7 separate regions of the Homo sapiens genome follow, and regions 1, 2, 3, 5, 6 and 7 are each linked to region 4. Evidence: promoter capture Hi-C in 16 types of primary human blood cells and fetal thymus (Javierre and others, 2016). All regions are on one chromosome and are shown on one strand. The core of a region is centred on a gene start or on the middle of the fragment in contact, and the rest is flanking DNA. Distances in the headings are between cores, read along the strand shown. Region 1 has its middle 74 kb from the start of LINC00540. Region 2 overlaps LINC00540 (long intergenic non-protein coding RNA 540). Region 3 has its middle 6.7 kb from the start of SAP18. Region 4 holds the start of FGF9 (fibroblast growth factor 9). Region 5 overlaps LINC00540 (long intergenic non-protein coding RNA 540). Region 6 has its middle 100 kb from the start of LINC00540. Region 7 overlaps LINC00540 (long intergenic non-protein coding RNA 540).

Region 1 (3,356 bases), core at 530-3,029, 610 kb after region 4:
TTGATTTATGAAACATGTAAATATATTATTGTTTACTCAAAAATAAGTAAATATAAATTTTAAAATATGATCATAGTCTCTACATTTTAATCCTCAGAGATGCCTTTTAAGTTTTTCTGTTAGAAACTTTTAATTCTATTACGCATATATAGGCATTACTTTGCTCTTTAATATTTTTTCAGGGAAAATGACATAAAAATTTAAAAAACCCAGGCAATAACTTTCTACATTATCAGGTTTTATTACGCTAAATTAAATTTACTAAATGCTATTAATTAAATTTTAGTAAATGCTTTTAGAGTATGTGTTCTTTTAACTGATAAGATGGTACTATTCTCATGATGCATTATGTGGAGTCTATAAAGGAAAGTTAATATCACAATGCCTAGAAAAGTTAAAGTTTCTGCCTCATGGGGAAATATGGCTGGTCTTTATTCCAGACTATTTTCAAATAGCCTGCTCAGCCCTCCAAAGCTATGTTGTCTTCTCTGACCTGTTTCTTAATTTATATGTAACTTTTAAATCTGCAAAAGGATATTTCAATTTATTTTTATTTTATTATTATTTTTTGAGACAGAGCCTCACTGTGTTGCCCAGGCTGGTCTGGGATCCTCCCGCCTCAGCCTCCTAAGTAGCCAGGATTAGAGGCTTGCACCACCCTGCCCAGCAATTTTAGTAGTTTGGACTTCCTGTGTCTTCCTTTCTGCTTCCCTATGTCCATTATTCATCTCTAGTCGCTCATCTTCCATGCACATCCAATTCCTCATGCTCCTTGACTGTCTCACACCTCCATGCAAGCATAGACCCAGGTTGGCAAGGTCCTCTTTAAGAAACAGAGTATAAACTTAGAAATATATCATTAATACCAAAGTAAATATTTGTTTAGAGAGACAGAAACAACATAACAAATTATACATTTTAAAAAGCTTTCAAAGGCTATAAACATAAAATCCAGAAAAGTAAGATTTCTTTATGTCCTAACACAACTTCATAACATTTTTTCTCCTGTTTTTTTAGGGGTTCGGGGGGCTACTTGTATTTTGCCTTGACATGTAACAAAAATTTCGTAAAAGTATGTTCTGTAGGGAAAATAGAAAAAAAATAATTCAGCCTTTTTTCCAGCATTGTTGGTTAAAATAATTTGGAAAAGTTACTTTTAGCTTCACAACGCATCTCTGGTTACACGTAGATTATTAGGATTGTTGTCAAATGCGGATAATCCTCTACTGAGTCTCTTTCATAGATGAGCTGTAAGAGTTCAAGTCATTTCAAGCATTCTCGGTCCATGACTAAACTTACATAGTCTTTGAACTGACAACATCCATTCACTCATGGAAGTGGTGTATTTTGAGTTTTCACTATATTTGTGAAAGTCAGGGAGAAACTCACATCTTTTCCCAATGTGTTCATGCAATTTACTCTCTTTAGTCATTGGTACAGTCCAAAAAGTTATTTATTATTTCTTTTTGCAGTTTGTTTCTTCCTCTAAATGAGTTACAACTTTTGTATGATCTGAATTTTTAGTATTGCCACTGCTACAATTTGCTTCTTGATGTCAGAATAATATGTGTTGATTTCATTGCCACTTTTGTTTGTATTTCATTAATTGAAATTTCTCTTCATCCTTTAACTATAAATTTTAAGATGACAAAAAGAGGTAACAGAATGATCTTTAAAAAAGATCACCCACGTTCCCCACCGCTCCCCGGCCCTGGCTCAAGATTCTTTAATGGCTTCCTGTTTTAATCCATATTGAATTGGAACCACATGGCCCTGTACTACCTGGCCTATGTTGACTCTCAGCCCTTACCTCCCACCATAACTTCCTTTTGTTCCTCAGGCTTCACCCCCTCTGAACTTCCTTTCTGTTCGGGGATACACTGAGCTTGCTCTACCTCAAGGCCCTTACACCTGCTGCTCCCTATTCCTGGGATACTTTTTGTTCAGATGTTTGCACTGAGGACTCTGTCTCATCATTTTTTTTTCTTTACTTGTTTAGAGACAGGGTCTCACTCCACGTAATGTTATCAGCCTGTCAACCAGGCTGAAGTGCAGTGATGTGATCATGGTTTCCCACAACATTGAACTCCTAGGCTCAAGCAGTCTTCCTGTCTCAGCCTCCCAAGTAACTGGGACTACAGGTGTATGCCACCATGCCCAGATAATTAAAAAAAATTGTATAGAGATGGAATTTAGCTATATGCCACACAAGTTGGTCTGGCACTCCTGGCCTCAAGTGATCCTTCCACCTCAGCCTCTCAGAGTGTTGGGATTACAGGTGTGAGGTGCTGAGACCAGCTTCTTCTCACCTTTATGTACCTGTTGCATGAAACTTCCCTAATCACTCTTCCACCCCTTCCAATCGTGATTTCACTAATTATTTTATCATAAACTCTTAGCAGCACTGATGAAAGGATTTTTAAACTCCTCTTTGTATTTGATCATTTGATTATGTGTTTGTTGGGCTGTTTATTGTCTGTTTGTCCTGACTGGACAGCCATTTTTTTGATGACAGGGATCCCATTCACTCACTGTTTCTCCTCAGGGCCATGAGCAGTGCCCAGGGCAGGACATGCAGCCCGTGAGAAGTGTTGGCACGGTGTGTATGTTATGAAAGGGTTCTTTGGCCCAAGAAAGCTTAGGCAATGCTTCACACAGCCCCCTTTTGTAGACTTACATTTCATCTGAGTATTTTGAAGCTTCTGAGACTTTTCTGCGATAAATCTATTTCATTTTGTTTACGCCAGAGTTTGACAAATGTATTTAACCACAGAAGCTTCTTGTTTTATTACCCTATTACCAACTACCATTTTGGAAATAGTCACACAAAGCCTTAAAATAATTTCTAACACCAGAGGAACTCTACACAATTCCATAAAACTACTTAGGTAAGGATTTAGGGTAAACAGACATTGAAAAATAATGCCTTCATAGCTCTAGTCTGGTCATCCATTCATTCACTCATTGAATAAGCATGTCTTGGACATCTGCCCTGTACCAGACATGACATCATGTCTCAGAGATATAGTGATTGGTACAATCCCTGTATCTCTGAGCCTCAGCATCTATGATATGGTGTGAGAAACACCACACTCTATGGGAGAGCATGTTGGAGCAGCACTGAGCCCAGTCTCGGGCTCTGGGAAGGCTTCCTGGTGAGGTGTCCTCTAAGCCAAGACCTGAAGGATTCATAGACATTTGCCAAATGAAGAGCCAAGGAAGACCACCACAGACATGGAGAGCAGCCTGCGTCCCAAGCTGGCAGCGTGAAGCAGCATGGGCATTGGAGGGACTGGGGGAGCCCGGTGTGGTGGGGCAGACTGCGAGAAACAGGTGCTGAGCTACGAGGACAGAGC
Region 2 (3,116 bases), core at 261-2,760, 540 kb after region 4:
TGGGTTTCCCATTTGAGCCACACAGAACCAGGCGATCTTTCACAGACTTGGCACCCTCTCCTCTTTGAGAGCCGAATCATGCTTCCTCTTCATTTCCACATTGTCAACACCCCAAGTTCCTTCAATCCCTCATTAAACAGGCTTGCTTTTAGCTCCTCACCACTCAAGTTACCTCCTTCTAAACTAATCATAGTCAAATTGTCCTCGAAAAGTGTATTTCCTGGAGCCCAGCATGGCGCCCTGCAGTGGGCATGGGCACGGGCGGTGCACTGCATGGGACTTTTCCTTCTCTCCATCCGGGTGCCATACACGAGGGTTTTCAGCTTAGGGCAGCATTCGCGTTTTCAGTGGTTACATCGCACCGTCAGCTTACATTAACTTTGTGGTCATCTCTGCTCCAATATCTCAGACTCATCGAGTGAGTCAGAAGCAGGGTCAGGGGAGACGTTTCCATTGTGTCTGTGTGGAGGTGTCAGGGGACATTAAGGCAGTCACCATGTGGGACCCTAGGAGAGGAGCCAGCAGGGAGGAGCGGCTCTCTGACAGCAGGGCCTGCAGGATGATGGAGCCGCACCTGCTGTGAGAGTCGTTTCAGAGCCAGTGCCCCTTTAGGTGAGTGCACACTGTAGGGATGACAGAGTTGTGCAAAAACTAAAAGCTTCGGCTGGGTGCAGTGCCTCATGCCTATAATCCCAGCACTTTGGGAGACCGAGGCAGGTGGATCACCTGAGGTCAGGAGTTTGAGACCAGCCTGGGCGACATGGCAAAACCCTGTCTCTACTAAAAATACAAAAATTAGTTAGGCATGCTGGCGCACGCCTGTAGTCCCAGCTACTCAGGCTGAGGCGGGAGAATCACTTGAACCCAGGAGGCGGAGGCTGCAGTGACACGAGATCACACCACTTCACTCCAGCCTGGGCGATAGAGCAAGACTCTGTCTCACAAAAAACAACAAAACTCTAAAAGCTATGCCATGAGGGGCTGAAGTATCCTCGTTGTGGAAAGGCAGGTTACGCAGAGCACAGCGACCGGGAGCCCCAGGCAGTGGTGTGCCAGGCAAGCCAAGTGGAGGGGAGGACAGAGGCAGGTGTCAGGGAGTGGGTAGCGTTGGGGACATGGCCGCTGTCTAAAGAGGCACAGTGGACTTGGAGAGAATTCTGGAGCAGTGAAGAGCCACAGAGCAGGCGACAGCCTTGAGTTTAGTGCAGGGACTGAGTGGCCACTCAGTCACATGTAAGTGGGCAGCAGCAGCTGTGTTGTGATTCGAGGGCCACAGTCCGTGTGGCCTGGGATGAGGGCAGTCCTTCCTTGCCTGGCTATTTTCTTAGAGATGATAGTCTAAAAGGAGAGCAGTTCATGCCTCGAACAAAGCCCCACCCAAGTGCAGGATATCAAGGCAGATGAGAAGCTTCTCTGTGACTTCCGGGAGGATGCTGGAGGAATGAGAGGACCTCAGAATGGGGCCAAATGAGGTCCTGCCAAGGGCAGATAAGAGCCATTTGGGCTGTTGATGGGACCTTAGTGGTATCCACAAATAATCTGGCCTGGGGGTTACAAGGCTTTTCTTATCCACAGAAATGTTTTAAACTAACCATGTGAACATTGTTTTAATAGAAGCTTTATGGTGAGAAATCACAGAGTAAAATCGCCATTTAATTCTGTGATTTCCTGAACCGAGCTGGGTCCAGGGCAGACCCGCGTGTTTGGATTGTGTGGACTAGGCCACATCTGGGGCTATTAGCAGTTCTCTTCAGTTCTTCCTCTCAGCGTGTGTGGCTCTCCTGCATGGGATCCCCAGCCTAGACAATGGAAGACTTCCCCACACACTCTGGAAGACTTGGGGATAAAAACTGTTTGGTGCCCAGGTCAGACCACAGAGATGTTTAAAGCTTGATTTTAACTTTAAGGTTTGAAAATCAGACCATTTTAATGTTTCATTTTAGACTTACTCGTGCTGTTTCCCTATTGCCAAATTTCACTTTCATAAGGATTTTACTGTAGAGGGATTCTCAGGTGAGATTCTCTGGTTCACGCTTTGACATTCTAATCCATAAAATTCAGCAACAGATAGGATCACTACAAAAAACCCACTTAATATTGCTATGATGACTTACACGCCCCTTTGTAAACTCACTTGAATCATCAACATGTGTCTTTCTTCATAAGAACGTACACTGAAAAAAGGATTTTGCATGTATCTTGGGTTGGAGATCCGTTCTAAGACGTGTGATACATTTCGATTTAGAATTTTTCCAGAAAAGATTTTTCATTTACAGTCAATTGACTTGCGTTTTCTTTTTCTCCCCTCTTCTATTGCGCTGAACTTAAAACCCATTTTAGCTGTTATTTTTGTATTTATTGGATTGCAACCCTCTTAATGAGATTTAAATGAAAAGTCCTGAAGTGCCCAATCTAGACTTCATATTGCGCCCACATGGTTTGCTAAAGCAGGTACCATACCAGTGGGGATCCCTAGTTGTCACAGCTGTAGGAGCCTCCTAATTGCTTGTGACATGGTGCTGCCTTTTGATCTTGACCATGTTCTCCTAATTATTTAATCTTTGACAACATGAAAACATGTTTAACCACATACCATGAATTAAGATCCAGCACGACTTTTCTCCTGAGGCCTAGTTCTGCGTGCATATTCTTTATGTGCATAGCAGCTAAGGAAAAAAAAAAGTTTATTTCCTGTCATCTGTTGAAGGGGAACTAGGGGATGGGGGTGGTGTGTGCGTATGAACATCCCTCCAGCCTCTCCCTCTCTAGACTTCTGCTGATACATTTCTTGTTTGTTCTGAATTACCCCTGAGTTGTTGAATTCTCAAATGCACTGTTTTTAGGCTGGTATTGTCTGACAGTTTTTTTCTAGCCTGGGGAAGGCAGGGAGTAGGAACTCATTGTTAGACAAAGAAGCAGGGAATTGATTCTGGTGTGTTACACTTGTGCTCTTCTATTTAGGAATATTTATGTTTTATTTTATTTAGTTCATGTGTCTGTTTTCTTCAATGGATTCTAAGCTGCTTGTTGGTAGGGGCCTTACTATGTCATCTATGAATCACCTGTGCATAAAAAATAATTGCTGTGTGTGGCTGGGCGCGGTGGCTCACCCCTGT
Region 3 (3,048 bases), core at 427-2,926, 540 kb before region 4:
TAAATAAATAAATAAGAAGGCCAGGTGACATGGCTCATGCCTGTAATCCCAGCACATTGGGGGTGAAGGTGGCAGGATCACCTGAGGTCAGGAGTTTGAGACCAGCCTAGCCAACATGGTGAAACTCCGTCTCTACTAAAAATTATAAAAATTAGCCAGGTGTGGTGGCATGCGCCTGTAATGCCAGCTACTTGGGAGGCTGAGGCAGGAGAATCACTTGAAGTGTGGAGGTGAAGGTTGCAGTGAGCCCAGGTGGCCACTGCACTCCAGCCTGGGCAAGAGAGTGAGACTCTGTCTCAAAAACCGAAAGAGAGAAGAAATGTACAGTCTAAGTAGTAATTGTACTATCTGTAAGCTTAATTCTTCTAGGATTGTTATGGAAATTTATATATTTTTTCGACTCCTTTTTTGAGACAGGGTCTCACTCTGTTGTCTAAGCAAAAGAGTTGTACAGTTATACACAATCACGGCTCACTGCAGCCTTGACCTCCTGGGCTCATACAAACCTCCCACCTCCAGCTTCCTGAGTACCTGGGACTACAGGCACGTCCCACCCCAGCTAATTTTTTTTTTTTTTTAAGAGACAGGGGTCTTGATAATGTTGCTCAGGCTGGTCTTGAACTCCTGGACTCAAGTGATATTCCTGCCTCAGCCTCCCAAAGTGCTGGGATTACAGGTGTGAGCCTTTGCGCCCAGCCTTTACTCTTGGTAACAAGTAGATGCTTTACTGAGACTGTTCACATACAACCCTTTGGGAAACAGAGCCCAGTAAATATTGTGCTTATAAATGCTGTACCCCTTGTCGCCTACAGATACACCTGAAGGAAAGAGTGTCATGAGAGGAATTTGAAAAGCATTAATAATCCCCTAGAGATTCAAATTTATAATCCACAACTTTTATAAACAACCAGATAGTTCTATGGATAATACATTTCATTAAATCTTCTCCAGAAACAAATTTTGTATAGTGTTCACTTATTTCCCTGCCATTAAAAGGTCATTCTTCTTCATATTAACAGCAGAGAATGCCATGGAGTTGCAGTGATTGACTGAGGCATATTCTTTAGAACTCCTCATTACATATTTCTGATTTTAATTCGGAGAATCTGCCTTTTCCTAGATTCATAATGCTAGGACACACAAAAGAGAGAGAGTAGAAAAAGAAGAGTGGAGAGAGTCTGATGACTTATTTTTCACATACTTCAGATGTTCACTTTTTTTAATTTTTAAAATTGTGATAAAATGTATGTAACATAAATGTTATCATTTTAACAATTTTTTGGTGTACAATTCAGTGACTTGAAGTATGTTCACTATGTTGTGCAACCATTCCCACCATCCATATCCAGAATTTTTTCATCATCTCAAAAAGAAACTCTGTACCCATTAAGCAATAACTTCCCAGTCCCCACGTACCCACCAGCCGCTGGCAGCCTCTCTTTTACTTTCTGCCTATGAATTTGCCTGTTCATTCTATGTGCCTCTTATAAATGAAATCACACAATGTTTGTTCTTTTGTGTCTGGCGTATTTCACTTAGCATAATGTTTTCTAGGTTCACCCACGTTGTAACGTGTCAGAATTTTATTCCTTTTGAAAGCTGAATATTCCATTCTATGTGTATCTTTCCATCTGTTGATGGACATTCAGATTGTTTCTACCTTTTGGCTACTGTGAATAATACTGCTATGAACACTAGTGCACAAATACCTGAGTCCCTGCTTTCAATTCCCTTGGGTATATTACTTAGAAGTGTAATACTTGTCCACGTAAATTCTAAAAAGAAAGGAAAGATGCATACCCTTAAATATTACAATTTCAGGAGCAACTCAGAGCTGGTTTTACAAGTCCATGTAGGTAGAATGAGGGCTGCTGAAAAAGTATTCCAAGTATTCTAAAATATAGATGCACTTCTACTGCCTCAAGATGTCGGAAAGTTTCATTTTGATGAGAGCTGGTTATTTGGAAAGGTCCCAAAATGAGAGCTTATATCTAAGAAATGAACCCTCCCCAGTATCACCAATAAAAGGTTGTGAAGTTCTTCATTTTCATAGTTTCAATGTTTTCCCTTTAATGGATTGATTAGAGTGCCCTCATGTGTCTGTATTATTATATTATGGAGGTTTTGAAAAAGATATAATACTAGAATCATCCTAGAATTCTTCTTTATTCAGAAAAATAAAATTTTAAAAAAAAAGATATACTAGAATCATAGAACTGGGGAGAAAATTTAAATATCTTTTTGAAAAAACAAACATTGCCTGCATGCAACTCTGCATGCATGCCTATTCTAGGCACAATGAAAAAATAAATTTTTTATGGCTGGGTGTGGTTAGTCACACTTGTAACCTCAGCACTTTGGGAGGCCAAGGCGGTGAATTGCTTGAGGCCAGGAATTTTTTTTTTTTTTTTTTAGACGGAGTCTCACCTAAGCCTCCCGAGTAGCCGGGACTATAAGTGCCCACTACCACGCCCGGCTAATTTTTTGTATTTTTAGTAGAGACAGGGTTTCACTGTGTTAGCCAAGATTGTCTCCATCTCCTGAACTCATGATCTGCCCGCCTCAGCCTCCCAAAATGCTGGGATTATAGGCATGAGCCACCACACCCTGCCGAGCCCAGGAGTTTGAGACAAGTTAGGCAACATGGCAAAACCCCGTTTCTAGAAAACATTAGCCAGGCATGGTGGTGTGGCCTGTGGTCCCAGCCACATGGGAGGCTGAGGTGGGAGGATTGCTTGAGTCCAGGAGGCGGAGGCTGCAGTGAGCTGAGATTGAGATTATGCCAATGCATTCCAGCCTGGGCAGCGGAGCCAGACCCTGTCTCAAAAGTAAGTAAGTAAATAACTATTTTAAAAGAGTAATCTAAATCACACATACAAAAGAGTTTCTAAGATGTACAGCTACAATGTAAAGAATAAAAAACACACTCCTCCTAGTGAGAAAGAGTATATTACCAGTATCTTAGAAGCTGTGGATGCCCTTCATAAATTGCATCACCCAAGCTTACCCTCAGAGGTAACACTAAACTGAATTTAGTGTTTATTTCCC
Region 4 (3,108 bases), core at 153-2,652:
TTGATTCGCTTCCCCACCGCAGGGGTTCAGTCTCTGCTTTCGACTTTGCTTCTCAGTTGCACGCCCCGCAGTGTGGAGCTGCGCTCAAGTCTCGGCAACTTTCACCATCTTGACCCGAGAGTCGGGCCGTTTCTAAGACAATGTGAACAAAGAGGAGCAGGGGGAGGGAAGGGGGGCCCCGCGGGAGGGCTGTGGGCGAGTGTGTGTGTGTGTGTGTGTGTGTGTGTGTGTGTGTGTGTGTTGGGGGGCGCCGCGCTCCGCGCCCGCCGCCACTGGGGATCCGGGCGCAGGCAGGCTGTCCCGGGCGCAGAGCGCGCCGCCTCCAGTCTCTCTGGCGGGCCCGGCCCGGCAGGGCCCCTGGCGGCCCCCGGAGGCGGGTTTCTTTGTCCCTGACTCCCGCTGGGCGCGAAGGCCGCCGGCGGCTAACAGAAACCCGAGCCCGCGCAACGGAGCTCAGGCTTCCACGTGCGGCCCCGCAGGGCAGAGCAGGAAGGAGCGGCTGCAGCCCCGGGGCGCCCCGCAAGCATCCAGTGCCCGGCCCTCCCAGCTCCGCGGCGGGCTTCGGACGGTGGAGTGAGACACCAGAACTCGCCTTTCGCTTCCCCGAGCCGATGCACGGCTTGGGATGGCGCCGCTCGTCCTAAGCAGCGTGGTTTGAGGGCGAGAAGACGCCTACTGGAGCGCTCCCCTCCACCCAGACTCCCGAAGACGCGCGCCCGAGTCGAAGTCGGGGACAGAGAAGGTTCTCTGGCGCCCCCCTGCCGACTGCTTTGCGGCCGCCGGGACCCGAGCAGCGGGGCGGGACCTAAACATAGCCCCAACCCAAAGATGCCCAGCAGAACGCTCCAAACAAAACAGAAACGGTGGCCGCATCTGCGTGTGTGTGTGTGTGTGTGTGTGTGACGGGGGAGAGGAGTTGATCTTACCTGAAACATAGTTTGCGCTTCTGTGTGTGTGGCCGAAGAATGGAAGAGAAACTGCCATGGCCATCCGAGTCCATTAAATCAACTCCCCTTCCCTCCGACTCTCTCAACTCAGTCATATTCTATAATACAACGCAAGGTTACAGAGCCCCAGTGAAAACTAGTTTCCCAGTTTCACTCTGACCCTCCATCAATGTAGCCAGCCAGCTAGATTGTAGGTTACCGGCTTCTATTCTGCAGGAGAACTTTGAGTCTCGGGAGACTCAGGGTTTCTTCCTCCCGCCTCTCGCAGTGCATCTTTCATTTGCTTTTCTTTGTAAAGCCAGGGCTCCTCGACTGCCTCCCAGGAAGTCCTGCGCTCTGGCGCGCCGCACCTCGCCTGCCGCAGAGCGGCGCGGGCAGTAAGCCGGGCGCTAGGACCGCGGGGAGCCCGGGCTGCGGCGGCGCTACCTTAAACCCAGCCCAATGCCGCTGCCTGCGCCACTCTGCGCGCCGGCGGGGGCTGCGCAGGAGGAGCGCTCCGCCCGGCTACAACGCTCCGCGAGCCGGCGCGGCAACACCTGTTCGCGGCAGCCTGGGCGGCACGCGAGCTCCCGGACGCGGCTCTCCTCGCTCGCCGCTCGCCACCCGTTCTAAGCCAATGGACATCTGCCGAGCCTCTGGAGAATCCTGGATACTAGCTTTGGACGCCTAAAGTTTCTTCTTCTTTTTGTTTTATTATTATTATCATTTTTTGGAGGGGGGACCGGGAGGGGAGATTTGTCGCCGCCACCAACGTGAGATTTTTTTTTCCCCTTGAAGGATTCATGCTGATGTCTGCAGAGTCGGTTAGAGAGTAAAAACAGCGCATGCCTTCCTGGAGTCAGGATCCGTAAATTCTGACGTAGCCCGTGCATCTTAAAAATCCCTATAATAACGCCTAGGCATTTAAGTTGCTATGGTCATTCTGATCTCAAACCAAATGGAGAAACTACGGATTTTTTTTCCTTATTACGGTCGGATGGGATGAAGACCTTCCTGCCTGCTAAGAGCTGGGGATCTATCTATAGAGATACATAGATATGTTTATCAATATGTCAGTGTGTGAGTATAAAGTGGTGGTTTCTTAGACTATCAGTGGTTTGACCTTGAACCTGTGCCAGTGAAACAGCAGATTACTTTTATTTATGCATTTAATGGATTGAAGAAAAGAACCTTTTTTTTCTCTCTCTCTCTGCAACTGCAGTAAGGGAGGGGAGTTGGATATACCTCGCCTAATATCTCCTGGGTTGACACCATCATTATTGTTTATTCTTGTGCTCCAAAAGCCGAGTCCTCTGATGGCTCCCTTAGGTGAAGTTGGGAACTATTTCGGTGTGCAGGATGCGGTACCGTTTGGGAATGTGCCCGTGTTGCCGGTGGACAGCCCGGTTTTGTTAAGTGACCACCTGGGTCAGTCCGAAGCAGGGGGGCTCCCCAGGGGACCCGCAGTCACGGACTTGGATCATTTAAAGGGGATTCTCAGGCGGAGGCAGCTATACTGCAGGACTGGATTTCACTTAGAAATCTTCCCCAATGGTACTATCCAGGGAACCAGGAAAGACCACAGCCGATTTGGTAGGTATACCATTAACCCTTTAGTGTCCATGAGATGACATGTTGAAATTATAACTACCAAGAAGGTGGTGGCCGGGTGGGGGACGTGGGAAGGGTTCTCCCCTCCTCCCCTCTTTCTCTGTATCTCTGTCTCTCTCTCTCTCTGTCTTGCCAGCTCCGAAAAAAAAATGCCTCCGGAATTGCAGATCTGCTGCTGGCACTGATGCAAGTATACACTGAAAGGCCCCCTACTTTTAATTTAAAGGGGGGCATAATTTATAAATATAATACAAGTTTCCAGTTCTTTTGCATCAGATACACGGGTTTAGGAAGTTTCTTTTGAATGGACTGATTGCACGAGTTTAAAGCTTTAATCATTAACTACTAAGAACTTAATGCAGTTTCTTGAAGGCAGTGGGTATCTTGTGCCCAAATTAAGGTTTTTTTCCTTTCCCCCTTTCCTCTAGTAAGTATACTACTTGAATTGTATATTAAGTGCATTGTTTATTCTCCCCTGTGAGGGTCTGAAAGCCCCATAGGCGAAGGTTGCTGACGGATTGTCCTGTTGGGAGGACTAAAGTCATATTTTAGGCTCCGTGAAAAGCAGGGG
Region 5 (3,485 bases), core at 20-2,519, 590 kb after region 4:
TACTTGGGAGGCTGAGACAGGAGAATGGCGTGAACCTGGGAGGCAGAGCTTGCAGTGAGCCGAGATGGCGCCACCACACTCCAGCCGGAGCAAGAGTGCAAGACTCCATCTCCAAAAAAAAAAAAAAAAAAAAAAAATCAACCTCTGGTGTTGTGGGTGGGGATGGCGGAAGGAGTGATGCATGATACGTTCATGGCTATTTCGTCATGCTCCCCTGCTTTCATCAGAGATATCAACAGATGAGCAGCTGTTGACCCAGAAAGGTGGATCAATGCTTATGGCCATACCCTGTATTAGTTTCCTTATCTTTGCAAGTTGGGTCCTACGGGGTTTCAAATCCAGCTGCCTTTAATAGACAGAACGCTTAGGGCCACACACGTGAAGGACTTACTAGGTATTGCTTAACTCTGTTTTTGTTCATAAACAGGCATCAAGGATGGAGATGCGCTAAGACTGATGATGTACACAGTACAAATAGTGCAAATAAGGATGAGAATACAAGCCCTGGTGATTAAAAAAGGTCAATAATGTTTTTCAAGGAGCACTTAGCTTTTTAAATGATTGTTTAAAAAATGTTGCTTCCATGTATTAAGTCTGAATTGTCCTTAGATGAATGACAGGAAATTATGTCTGTCTTTTCTTTTAATATGTGTATGTTCATCCAAACACAATGAAGTAAAACACCGAAGCTTTATCTGTGTGATTCAAGTCCCCTAACCTATCTTTATCTGAATATTAAAAGAGAAAAATCTTGGTAGATATAAATAAGAACTAAATTGTCTACAAAATTGATTTAATTCTCATTTTATTTTTTTTAAATTTTTACATGACCTACAGGACATCACTTGTAACACAATAAAGAAAAAGATATTATTCTTTAATACAGATTACAAAGTTGACAGTGAAAATTGCATCATGATTGGTTGAAAGAGATATTGATAGGATTTAATAGTCCTCTACTTTAATTGCTACTGTTTCCAATTAGACAGAGTTGGTGTTGCTCAGCCTGAAAATTCTGGACTCTGACTTCTTGAGCCTCTACAACTCTAAAATGTTCGTGTTCACTGCTGTGCTAACTTTACATTTAAGCATTAGTAATGATATTTTTAGATAATTTTAATGTTTTTTATAGTAGTTATGAATACACTAACCTTTTTCATCCCATGCTTACTGTAAAAATAAGATTAGCCAATGATTATCTCTTTTATATATATATATATATATATATTTGACAATCCCGTGGTTATGGTAAATTTCACACATACTGACATTACTTTGAGAAAACTGATTTGTATCCCTACTCCCATCCCAGGAGAATGTTCTTATTATCTCAGTAACGTCCAGCAGATGATATCAAGATACGGGTCAGCTGGTGAGCACATGTGGGATTATAAGAAAATCGGCCTGAAACAGCTCAAATTCACCAATAAGCCATCCCATGCATGGCATTTTATTTATTGAGAATCTTAATAAACATTTCCATCATAATTCTCTTCCAAGTAGCCTTGGCACAACTTGGATTTCTTCCTTCTTATGGTCTTTATAACTGTGCTTGCACAAACTCTGTTATAGCAGTAGATGACTGAGGGAAGTTAGCTGGTTTGGTAGCTCTAAATACCATCCCCAGGACCTGGATTAATAACCAGCAGAACATTTATTGTTGAATAATGAATTCACTCCTTGTATAATGCTTTAATGTAAGAAATTTCTCCCTTGATTGGTTTGAGCCCTTTCTTAAACTCACACGTCATTAGCGAGCTAGGAAGTGTATTGTTGGACTACTGGTAATTCTTAGCAGTGTACGAAGACCACTATGTTCCGTATATTAGTATCTAACATTTATTGAGCACAAGCTTTATGTGCCAAGTGCATTGGCAGGTGCTCTCTATTTAAAGTGGAAAGTACAACGAGTACTTGTTCCTTCCCCTGAGTGTAAAAGGAGTAGGTGGAACTCTTAGTATGGAAACTAGCAAATTTGAGTGTATCTGACATGGGGTGGGGGTGGGGGGGTGGTGCAGATCTTGGCTAATAGCAGGAAAAAAGTAGGTAAGTCATATATGCATACCTAAGACCAAGACTCATTCAGGGCATAAGAAATTGTGTGAAATTATTTGAAGTTATTGAGATAAGATTTTGTTTTTAACAAAGGCAGAACTTTTCTACATGCCGGCTTTGCAAACTATATCTTACGTATTTTCAGTCCATGTGCCAAAACTGTACTAGTCTCTTCTCCATCAGAGACTAACAAAAAACATCATGAAGATCCACCTGCTGTTGTAGTGGCCTGAATGATGCAGGAGAAAGGGGGTTTCCGAGGGGGAGTATTACCAATCACAAAACCTGAACACATGTTATTGATTCTAGAGCCAAGATGTTGACACTGTCTGCACCCAGATCAAAATTAGATAAAATAACATTAGATTTCTATAATTACAGAAAGTAGCATATAACTTGAGACAAAGTTTCTAAAATACTGCATTACAGAACACTTAGTAATTAAATCTTCCATTGCTCCCTAGTTTAAACACAATGACTATTCATTACTGTGCTGTCCTCCCCAAAACTCCACTGGAGCCTTCTATGTAGCTCCTAGTCTTTCAGTCTCCCTAGAAAACCTTTTCTATTTTACATGAAAATTTTAGAGGTGTAGAGGCTACAGGAGTCAGAGTACAGACTTTTCAGGTTGAGTAACACCAACTCTGCCATATTGGTAACAGTATATAAAGTTATATACATAAAATATGAACAGAGATAAAGTTATATACATAAACTATGAAACAATTCCTTGCCTTCCTTATTATTTGCCTGTCTGCTCAGCAAACCTCTGCTCTTTAGTCTCTGTTTCTGCCCAAGACCAGTCTCCCCTCAGGCCCTTGATCTCAGCTTCTTATGTTCCAACAGTGTATCTTAGATTTATTCCTTCTTTACTAAGTTCTTTTCCTCAACCTATACACATGCTCAAATAGCCTATCCTTACAGAAACTCTCTTGTGACCCTGAAATTCTCTCCTAATTACTATCCATTCTCTTTTCTTTCTCATCCAATGTCATTCATTAATGCAATAAAAGTTTGTTGAGCAGCTATTATGTGCCAGGTACAATGCTAAACTTCTTTAATTCTATAATCAGAACAACAGTTATTATTCTTCAGTCTCAAAAAGCATGTATGTATTAAATTAGAAATATAAATTGGGAAAATATAGAAATGTATAAAAAATAAATAAAAATTATAAATAATCCTACTCACATGCCCAACACTGGTAATATCAATATATAACCAACCACATATGTACTGCTGCCTATTGGTAATGATGTATTCTAGATACAGGTAGAGTAAAAATACAAAATATGCCTTACAATATAAATTATTTTAAGTTTGTAATTGTAATTATTTTAAGTATTTTAATGAGATGTTTCTCACCCTCTTGAATAGTCTTGGAATGCAAAGTTTGTGCTAATTAATGGTCCTGAATTGCAGACCCAACT
Region 6 (3,499 bases), core at 164-2,663, 640 kb after region 4:
TAACATTTCAATTTAGATTTACATTTTTCTAACATACACCGAGTATATTCTCTTATTTTGAAAGATATATAATTAGTGGTCTTATCCCTTGTGATCAATATAATCACACTTAGTAATGTAATCTTGTGGAATTCATTTATATATCAATTGTGGTAAAAACTGTTTTTGGAGAATAATATAAATGGAGTAAGTGAATAATTCATAAATATGACAATGATCTTCATGGTGAAATAAAAGTAAGAAACACCAGAAGTAGATATTTTTTTTCCAAAATGGCATGGTGATAAAAGATAATGAAAATAAAGTTCAAAAGTGTGAAAATAATAAATGAAAACATAACTTTGTCATTTTATTAGTAGACTAAATTTTAAAGGTAGTGTTGTTCTAATGGGATTAAACAATAAATAAATTACTCAAGCAATTTACAGAAGATATGAATAAATAAGTTCAGTTTGAAAGAGTTATAAAAAGAGAGGAGTCATTGAAGAACGAAAGTTAGAATTACACAAGTTTAGAGTTAGAAGGAATTATAGACAACATCTGATTCAACACATTCTTTTTTTTTTTAATGAAATAATGAGATTTAAAGAGGCTAAAACACTTGGCCAGAGTTAAACATTGAGGAATGGACCTAAAATGTTGACTAAAAGATGACTCTGGTTGTGAGCTGGACAATGTCCTGAAAGGCAGCTAAGATTACTTTAGACTCACGACTAGTGTCTTGTCTAGACTTAACCTTGTCTAGACTGAAGTCTAGACCTCCTCCTTCTCTAAAACGCCATGTATAGTTTCTGCAAGTGCCTATCGACATGACAGTTTTGTACATGGATTTGGATTTGTTTAACATAAAATTCTCAGAAAAACCTAGTTAGAAGTCTAGACATTGTATTATCAGCTTTTAGCATTTTCCACTTCTTTTTTAAACAAAAAATCTTCATCCTGTGAGTCAATACATATTTATGGAATACTATAAATTCCAGGCACTTTGCTAGGCAATGGAGATACAAAGATAAAGAAGTAACAGCCCTGTCCTAAAGCATATTCAACTGTAATATGCTTGGAAGAGCAGCTATTGTAAATCAAAGGATCACAGTACCACTTGGTGAGTGCTCTTCCTTTAGTATGAACCAAACACTTCAAGACAAACATCTATACCCCTGACATTTCAAGCTTTGGCTTTTATTTTGATCAGTAGCACAAAATACTTATACTCCAGTCACCTTTCTGCTTCTTATTCTTTGCTAAAAATCCAGCTAAGAAAATGAACATTCAAAGAGAAAATCATGTGACATGTTAACTCGTCATTCTTTTAAATTCCAAAATCTCTATCATTATATCAATTAGAGTATTAGAAAGTCACTTGGAGTTTATTCCCTTAGACTTCCATGGGGAAACCTTTACAGAACTACAATTCAATTCTTGCCTTTTCTTAAAGGTTGATATAAAAAATAATGATGAACAATTTTTTGTTGGTGTTATTGAAAGCACAGGTGATTCTAAGTCTACATAACAAGTTGCTTCTTATTTATTCAAGACATATTTATTGGGCATTTATGTGCCAAGAAAGGAAAAGTTTTTCTTGTCAAGAACTATTAGGCTATCATTTAATAGATGACTCTAATTATATAGGGTATTCCCTCTTTGCTTTTGCTACCAGGAAGCTTAGAATTATTTTTGGGGCTCAGTGGAAGTGGTATTTTTAAACTTAATGTTTCTGGTGAAATTCTCTCAACTCCACTCTTTTCATACCCCACCTCAACCTCCACTCTCTTCCTTGGCTCTATTTTATCCTAATTAATATAATCCTATTTACTTTTACACATTTATATTTAGTGACCTAAACATAGGCAAGGTTATACATAATAAACGGTGGTGCTGCCACGTAGTACATTTATTCTTTATTAACAGGAGTCCAAGATAGTATTAGAAGTCTTAACAATTACGATAAAATACACCAAGGTTTAAATGAAATTAATGTTGTATGTAAACTAGAATCCATGGAATATGCAACCTTTGAAATCCTGAACAATGACGCTATTTTTAAAGGGGTTAGCTGCCTTTCGTTGGTTTTGTTGTATCATGGGACCAGATGAAGAAGCTTTGCTAAAATGCCACCTGTGTTTGGAAATAGCATGACAAAGGCCAATTGCTTGTGCCACCATCTACGGTCCAGTAAAAGAAAGTGAGAGATTAGAAACATCTTTGGTTTTGCCAGTTGGATATGATGATAGAATGGGTTACCTAAGTTTCTGTAGCATGTTAAGTTAAAATAAGACGATGCCAATATTAATGTAAGAGCTTTTAATAAAGGCTATTTATATCCACTTTGCTAGTAAAGAAAGTATGATGACAATTTATTAAAATCTTCATGATTTAGAAACAATAGCAATAGGCATACTGAATTGCAGCACATCAGCAAAGAGGGTGACCATTTTAGGAGAAAGAAGAAATATCCTACCTTATAATCATGTAAACTATGTAGTGTATGTGGATCAGTCACACAGTCATTTCCTTTGGTTATCATAATGTTACGGGGTGGCTAGGGCAAGAATATTATGAAAGATTCTGAGGCTCAGAGAAGTCAATTTCAATTCTAAACTCTCTGATGTAGCAGTTAAAATAAGTTAGTTTTACTTGCATCATCAAGTATGCAATACTAAAATAATAAAATTGCTATGAATGCAAACATACTTCAGGAATAGTGACTATATTTGGAGAGGGTAGGAGGAGAATGAGATGGAGAGTTGTTTTATCTATAATATCTCATTTTTTAAAAAAGTTAAAAAATGTAATAAATATGACAAATGCTGACATTTCTTTAGTCTGGATTATTGTTACATATGTGTCTATTTTCTTGATGTTTGCAATATTTAATTTCAAATCCTTATATTTTTTATTAAGAATCCTCAGCACTTATAATTGTATAATTTATCCACGGTCACGTTGCTGTAAAGGTTTTAATAGTTTGAGTGGTGTCCCCCTCCCCTGAAAAAAAAAAAGTCTACCAAGAGCCTCAGAATATGGCCTTATTTGGAATAGATGCTTTGCAAATTTTATTAAGGTAAATATCCTAAGATGAGATCATTCTGGATTAGGGTGGTCCCTAAAATCAATGGTGAATGTCCTTCTAAGAGACAGAAAAGGAGAAGACACAGAGGAGAAAGCCATGTGACGATGGAGGCAGAGATTGGAGTGATGTGTCTACAAGCCAAGCAAGGCCTGGGGCCACCAGAAGCTGGAAGAGACAAGGCAGGATTCTTCCCTAGCCTGCAGAAGGAGCGTGGCCCTGCTGGCACCTGGATTTAGGACTTGGCCTCCAGAACTGTGAGATAATAAAATTCTGTTGTTTTTAGGCTGCCAAATTAGTTCTAGTTTGTTACAAAAACCCTAGAAAACAAACACTTGGAAATCTAAGACCCCAGCTTTATTTCAAGACTCTAGTCCATCCCATGTTAAATTCTAGGGAGATCCCAGAAAGCCAAAGGAGCAAGGATTCAGG
Region 7 (3,502 bases), core at 215-2,714, 570 kb after region 4:
GGTGTAGCTTCCTTTCTCTATTGCTTTTGTTCCTTTGAACTGCAATGCAAACCCATGCACACAGAAAGTCAAGAAAAATAAGAGCAGTTTCTTGTTTCGGGAGTCATAAGTCATCTCAGGTAATGGTGAGGTAGGAAAACAGTTTTGGTCTCAGCCCACTGATAATGGATGGAAGTTACACCGGGTGTGATGGTTGCTCTATGTTTTAGCTGTTGACAATTGAAAGGGAACACATCAACATTTACTTATCTGACTTAATGAATGTTATCATGTGGAAAAGGTAAATCAATAACAGCCGAGATCAAACATACCAATCTCCTTTTGAACACACAATGCCCTCATTTATATAAATCTCAGCTGCTTGACGGGTGCCCATTTGAACACCCCTGGGCCAGCCTGGCTAAGAGGCCTTCCATCTTAGGGCGCTGGTGTCAGAATTTCAGGAACTTTTAAGCGTGGAAACTGATTTAAGAGCCGGCAAAGCTATAATTCCAGTGGTTTCCTAATTAACATGTGAGTGGAGAACTAGAGTGGCCATGGGTTATCTGAAGTGTTTAGTTCCTGCCTTCCTGCCCCGCCTCCCCAGAGCCCCAGACTCATTGAACAGAAAGGTTAGAAGTGGCCTACTGGTGACCCCAGGCAGGAACAGATTGTGATCTGCTTAATTAGGCTGCTGTCTTCATCTTACACCTCCAGTTTTAACACAGCTTTCCCCTGAGGGGATGTGGCTGCCGAGGTTGTGAACAGGTTTAAAGAGGGGATCTGAGAATGGCTGGGTGGGCTTCCAACTCTCAGAGTCCCCAGTAGTTGGTCCCCTCTGAACTCAGCGCTGCTCCATTTACCCTTCCTCCCGTCTTTTTCGCCCATTTCCTCTCCCTTGTCAGCCCTTCGTAGGGTGGAAGGGATTCAGCTGGGGGACCGCGGGCCTAGCCAGACCCAGCTGTGAGAAGCCACACAGGGGAGGCCATCTCACCATTTTCATTCTTGTCTCCGGCTTCTTGTTTCTGTTCCACTTCATCCCTCACCCGCAAATCCCACCCTCCAACCTGAATTTCCAAGCCTTGTGATTCTCACAGAAGCTCCTTTCTGGGTTGAGGTGGTTTTGAGCAGTAGAATACTCCGCTTTTCATTTTACTTGTGTTGAACAAAGTTTATGGGACTGAGCTGCTGGACTGGGATCCAGCAGATCAAACCAAATCAGAACGGAGTTGCTGGTGCTAAGTGGCACTCATCAAAGGGAACTTTGAAATGGGCCAGTTTTCCCCCAAACCAGAAGATTCCAGTCAACCTTTAGCCCTAAGGAGGTTAACTTTGAAATAAATGACCAGTTGCTTTTTGTTCTCTATGTCTGCTCTCCTCAGCTCTTTTCTGCTTATGAAGCTGAACTCCTCTGCTTCGTTCATTGGAACACCCATTCTGTTTTATAGAATGAGGTGTTGCTGGATTCCACAGTCACAAATCAAAGCCAATGAGCTCATTAAACTAAATCTGTTGTCATTTTGTCTTTTGACACTTACCTTCGTGTTGCTCTTCACTCTAAGGCCTTAAAATATATCCCAATACCCTTTTCACTGCTTTTCTTAAAGGTGTGTGTGTGTGTTATTGCTTTTGGTTTGATACATCTATCAGTTCAGTTTCCTTATATTAATACTTACATGGTTCTCGATTACCTCCAATTGCAACTGTAAGTGAGGGTTTTAAAATATTTTAAAACAAACAGAAAAAATCGAGTGCCTTAGAGTCTGAGGAAATCAGAAAGGCTATCTGTAGACCTTCCTGCCAGTTCACAGTCAAAGCCAGGCCCGTGGCTGCAGTTCTCTGGTGTCCTTGGAGGAGTGGGAGCACGGGGTGTGGTCAGTGGTTGCCTCTGTATTTCAGGCCTCAGGGGACTTGAGCCCATCTCCCAGCCCTTGTCAAAGGCTTTTCAGGCTTAAGAGCAGATTCTCAAAGTTTAGTATTCTTACATTAAAATATGAATGTAGGGACCAAATTCCATAGACATCAATTCAAGACATACGGAGTGAGGCCCCAAAATCTCTTAGAAGCCAGCACTAAATTCCGAGACCACATTGCTTTGGGAAACTAAAAGAGAAAATTGCTTCACCCTGTAAAAGTTTGGACACACTTAAGATGAGAATTCATTTATGATTTTTGTTACTCGGTATTTCGAATTCAGCCTTTTGAAATATAAACATAGCCTCAGGGAACAGTGTACACATATACTATCTGTCTGTCTGTCTGTCTGTCTGTCTGTCTGTCTATCATCTATCATGAACCTCTATCTATGTATCTATCTATCTATCTATCATCTATCTATCTATCTAGGTATCTGTGTATCCGTGTATGTACGTATCTACATAGGTATCTGTGAATGTATGTATCTACATATGTATCTACGTATGTATGTATGTATGTATCTATCTATCTCCCTCTTTACAAATAGCTGTTGATCAAATAATAACAGCATTGTTAAAAAGTCAGCCTCAGGGCCTCAGGATGCCCTCTTAGAATCTGTAAGTGTATGAAGCAGATCTGTAGGCTCTGTTGCTGCTAGTACATTATATTTCGCAGTGTAGTAGTAACTTTGGCAAGACCTATTTATTGGATGAGAGGGAACAATGATTGATGTGGGGACAGCATGTGAGTGAGGCATTCTCACTTTGTCACTGGACTCTTTTAGTGGTCCCTATCATTGTGAGAGATGCAGGATCCCTGCCCCAGTTCGGGCAGAGCAGCCTTCCCTCTCCTCCCACCAGCTCCCTGCTGCTACCCGGCTCTGCACACCCTGGCAGAGCACAGGCAGTGTTGACTGGAGTCTCTGCCATCCCTACCTGTCAATTCTCCAGCAGAGTCCTTAAAGGTAGGTTATATCCCCAGCTCCTAGTGGGGGGCCTAGCAATTAGTACATGTTCAATGAGAATTTGTGAAAGAATGTGTTTATTGAAGGGAGTCTAAATGTACCAGAATTTATATGAGGGAGTCGAAATGTACCAGAATATACCCCTTCTCTGCTTATAGACCTCAACTCCTAGGTGTCTGAGTCAGCTCAGGCTGCCATCAGAAAGGACAATAGACCAAGTGGCTTACACAGCAAACATTTATTTGTCCTAGTCCTGGAGGCTAGAAATCTGAGATCTGGGTGCCAACATGGCTGATCTCCGGTGAGGACTCTCTTCCAGATTGCAGGCTGCCATCTTCACATTCTGTCCCCACGTGGCCAAAAGAGAGTGCGAGAGCTCTCCCGAGCCTGCTTCCTAAGGGCAAGGATCCCATTCATGATGGGATCCGCCTCTTAATATCATGTATTGGGGGTTAGGATTTCAACACATGAATTTGGGGGGGAAACAAATATTCAATCCATAATACCAGGGATCCCTGTTTCATCTAAAATGCCGTATAATGAAAACTCAACTCACAAGTATTATTCATGGAATTGTTGGTTAAGTAGAAGGCATAGATAACTCTGAGGTATTCCTCAATCAGCCCTCGAGCCAAGATGAGT

The links. The method cuts DNA at HindIII sites, captures the fragments that hold promoters and counts their contacts. A CHiCAGO score of 5 or more calls a contact.
Region 1: a fragment that was not itself captured here is called in contact with the fragment with the promoter of FGF9 in region 4 in 11 of 17 cell types (naive B cells, total CD8 T cells, naive CD4 T cells and 8 more); the score reaches 21.1 in naive B cells.
Region 2: a fragment that was not itself captured here is called in contact with the fragment with the promoter of FGF9 in region 4 in 7 of 17 cell types (naive B cells, naive CD4 T cells, total CD8 T cells and 4 more); the score reaches 7.6 in naive B cells.
Region 3: a contact is called between a fragment that was not itself captured here and the fragment with the promoter of FGF9 in region 4, in 1 of 17 cell types (activated CD4 T cells). The highest score is 5.1, in activated CD4 T cells.
Region 5: a contact is called between a fragment that was not itself captured here and the fragment with the promoter of FGF9 in region 4, in 9 of 17 cell types (naive B cells, naive CD8 T cells, total B cells and 6 more). The highest score is 8.1, in naive B cells.
Region 6: a contact is called between a fragment that was not itself captured here and the fragment with the promoter of FGF9 in region 4, in 1 of 17 cell types (naive CD4 T cells). The highest score is 5.2, in naive CD4 T cells.
Region 7: a contact is called between a fragment that was not itself captured here and the fragment with the promoter of FGF9 in region 4, in 8 of 17 cell types (naive CD4 T cells, total CD4 T cells, naive CD8 T cells and 5 more). The highest score is 7.7, in naive CD4 T cells.

The regions. Positions count from the first base shown.
Region 1 is chr13:22,282,528-22,285,883 of GRCh38, forward strand. No RefSeq gene overlaps it. Among named protein-coding and RNA genes, the nearest start is that of LINC00540, 74 kb to the left of the region's middle. The HindIII fragment of the contact is 1,711 bases long and covers 925-2,635 here.
Region 2 is chr13:22,211,666-22,214,781 of GRCh38, forward strand. All of the region lies in intron 1 of LINC00540 (long intergenic non-protein coding RNA 540), which reads left to right. Among named protein-coding and RNA genes, the nearest start is that of LINC00540, 2.9 kb to the left of the region's middle. RefSeq lists a silencer at 505-684. The HindIII fragment of the contact is 209 bases long and covers 1,407-1,615 here.
Region 3 is chr13:21,131,927-21,134,974 of GRCh38, forward strand. No RefSeq gene overlaps it. Among named protein-coding and RNA genes, the nearest start is that of SAP18, 6.7 kb to the right of the region's middle. The HindIII fragment of the contact is 2,647 bases long and covers 354-3,000 here.
Region 4 is chr13:21,669,671-21,672,778 of GRCh38, forward strand. FGF9 (fibroblast growth factor 9) reads left to right here and starts at 1,403. Exons shown (of 3, transcript NM_002010.3): 1 at 1,403-2,519. The coding sequence starts at 2,243. RefSeq lists silencers at 221-480, 1,261-1,310, 1,331-1,390. The HindIII fragment of the contact is 3,792 bases long and covers 1-2,864 here.
Region 5 is chr13:22,263,883-22,267,367 of GRCh38, forward strand. The region is part of intron 1 of LINC00540 (long intergenic non-protein coding RNA 540); the gene reads left to right. Among named protein-coding and RNA genes, the nearest start is that of LINC00540, 55 kb to the left of the region's middle. The HindIII fragment of the contact is 1,164 bases long and covers 688-1,851 here.
Region 6 is chr13:22,308,104-22,311,602 of GRCh38, forward strand. No RefSeq gene overlaps it. Among named protein-coding and RNA genes, the nearest start is that of LINC00540, 100 kb to the left of the region's middle. The HindIII fragment of the contact is 491 bases long and covers 1,169-1,659 here.
Region 7 is chr13:22,243,392-22,246,893 of GRCh38, forward strand. All of the region lies in intron 1 of LINC00540 (long intergenic non-protein coding RNA 540), which reads left to right. Among named protein-coding and RNA genes, the nearest start is that of LINC00540, 35 kb to the left of the region's middle. The HindIII fragment of the contact is 7,702 bases long and covers 1-3,502 here.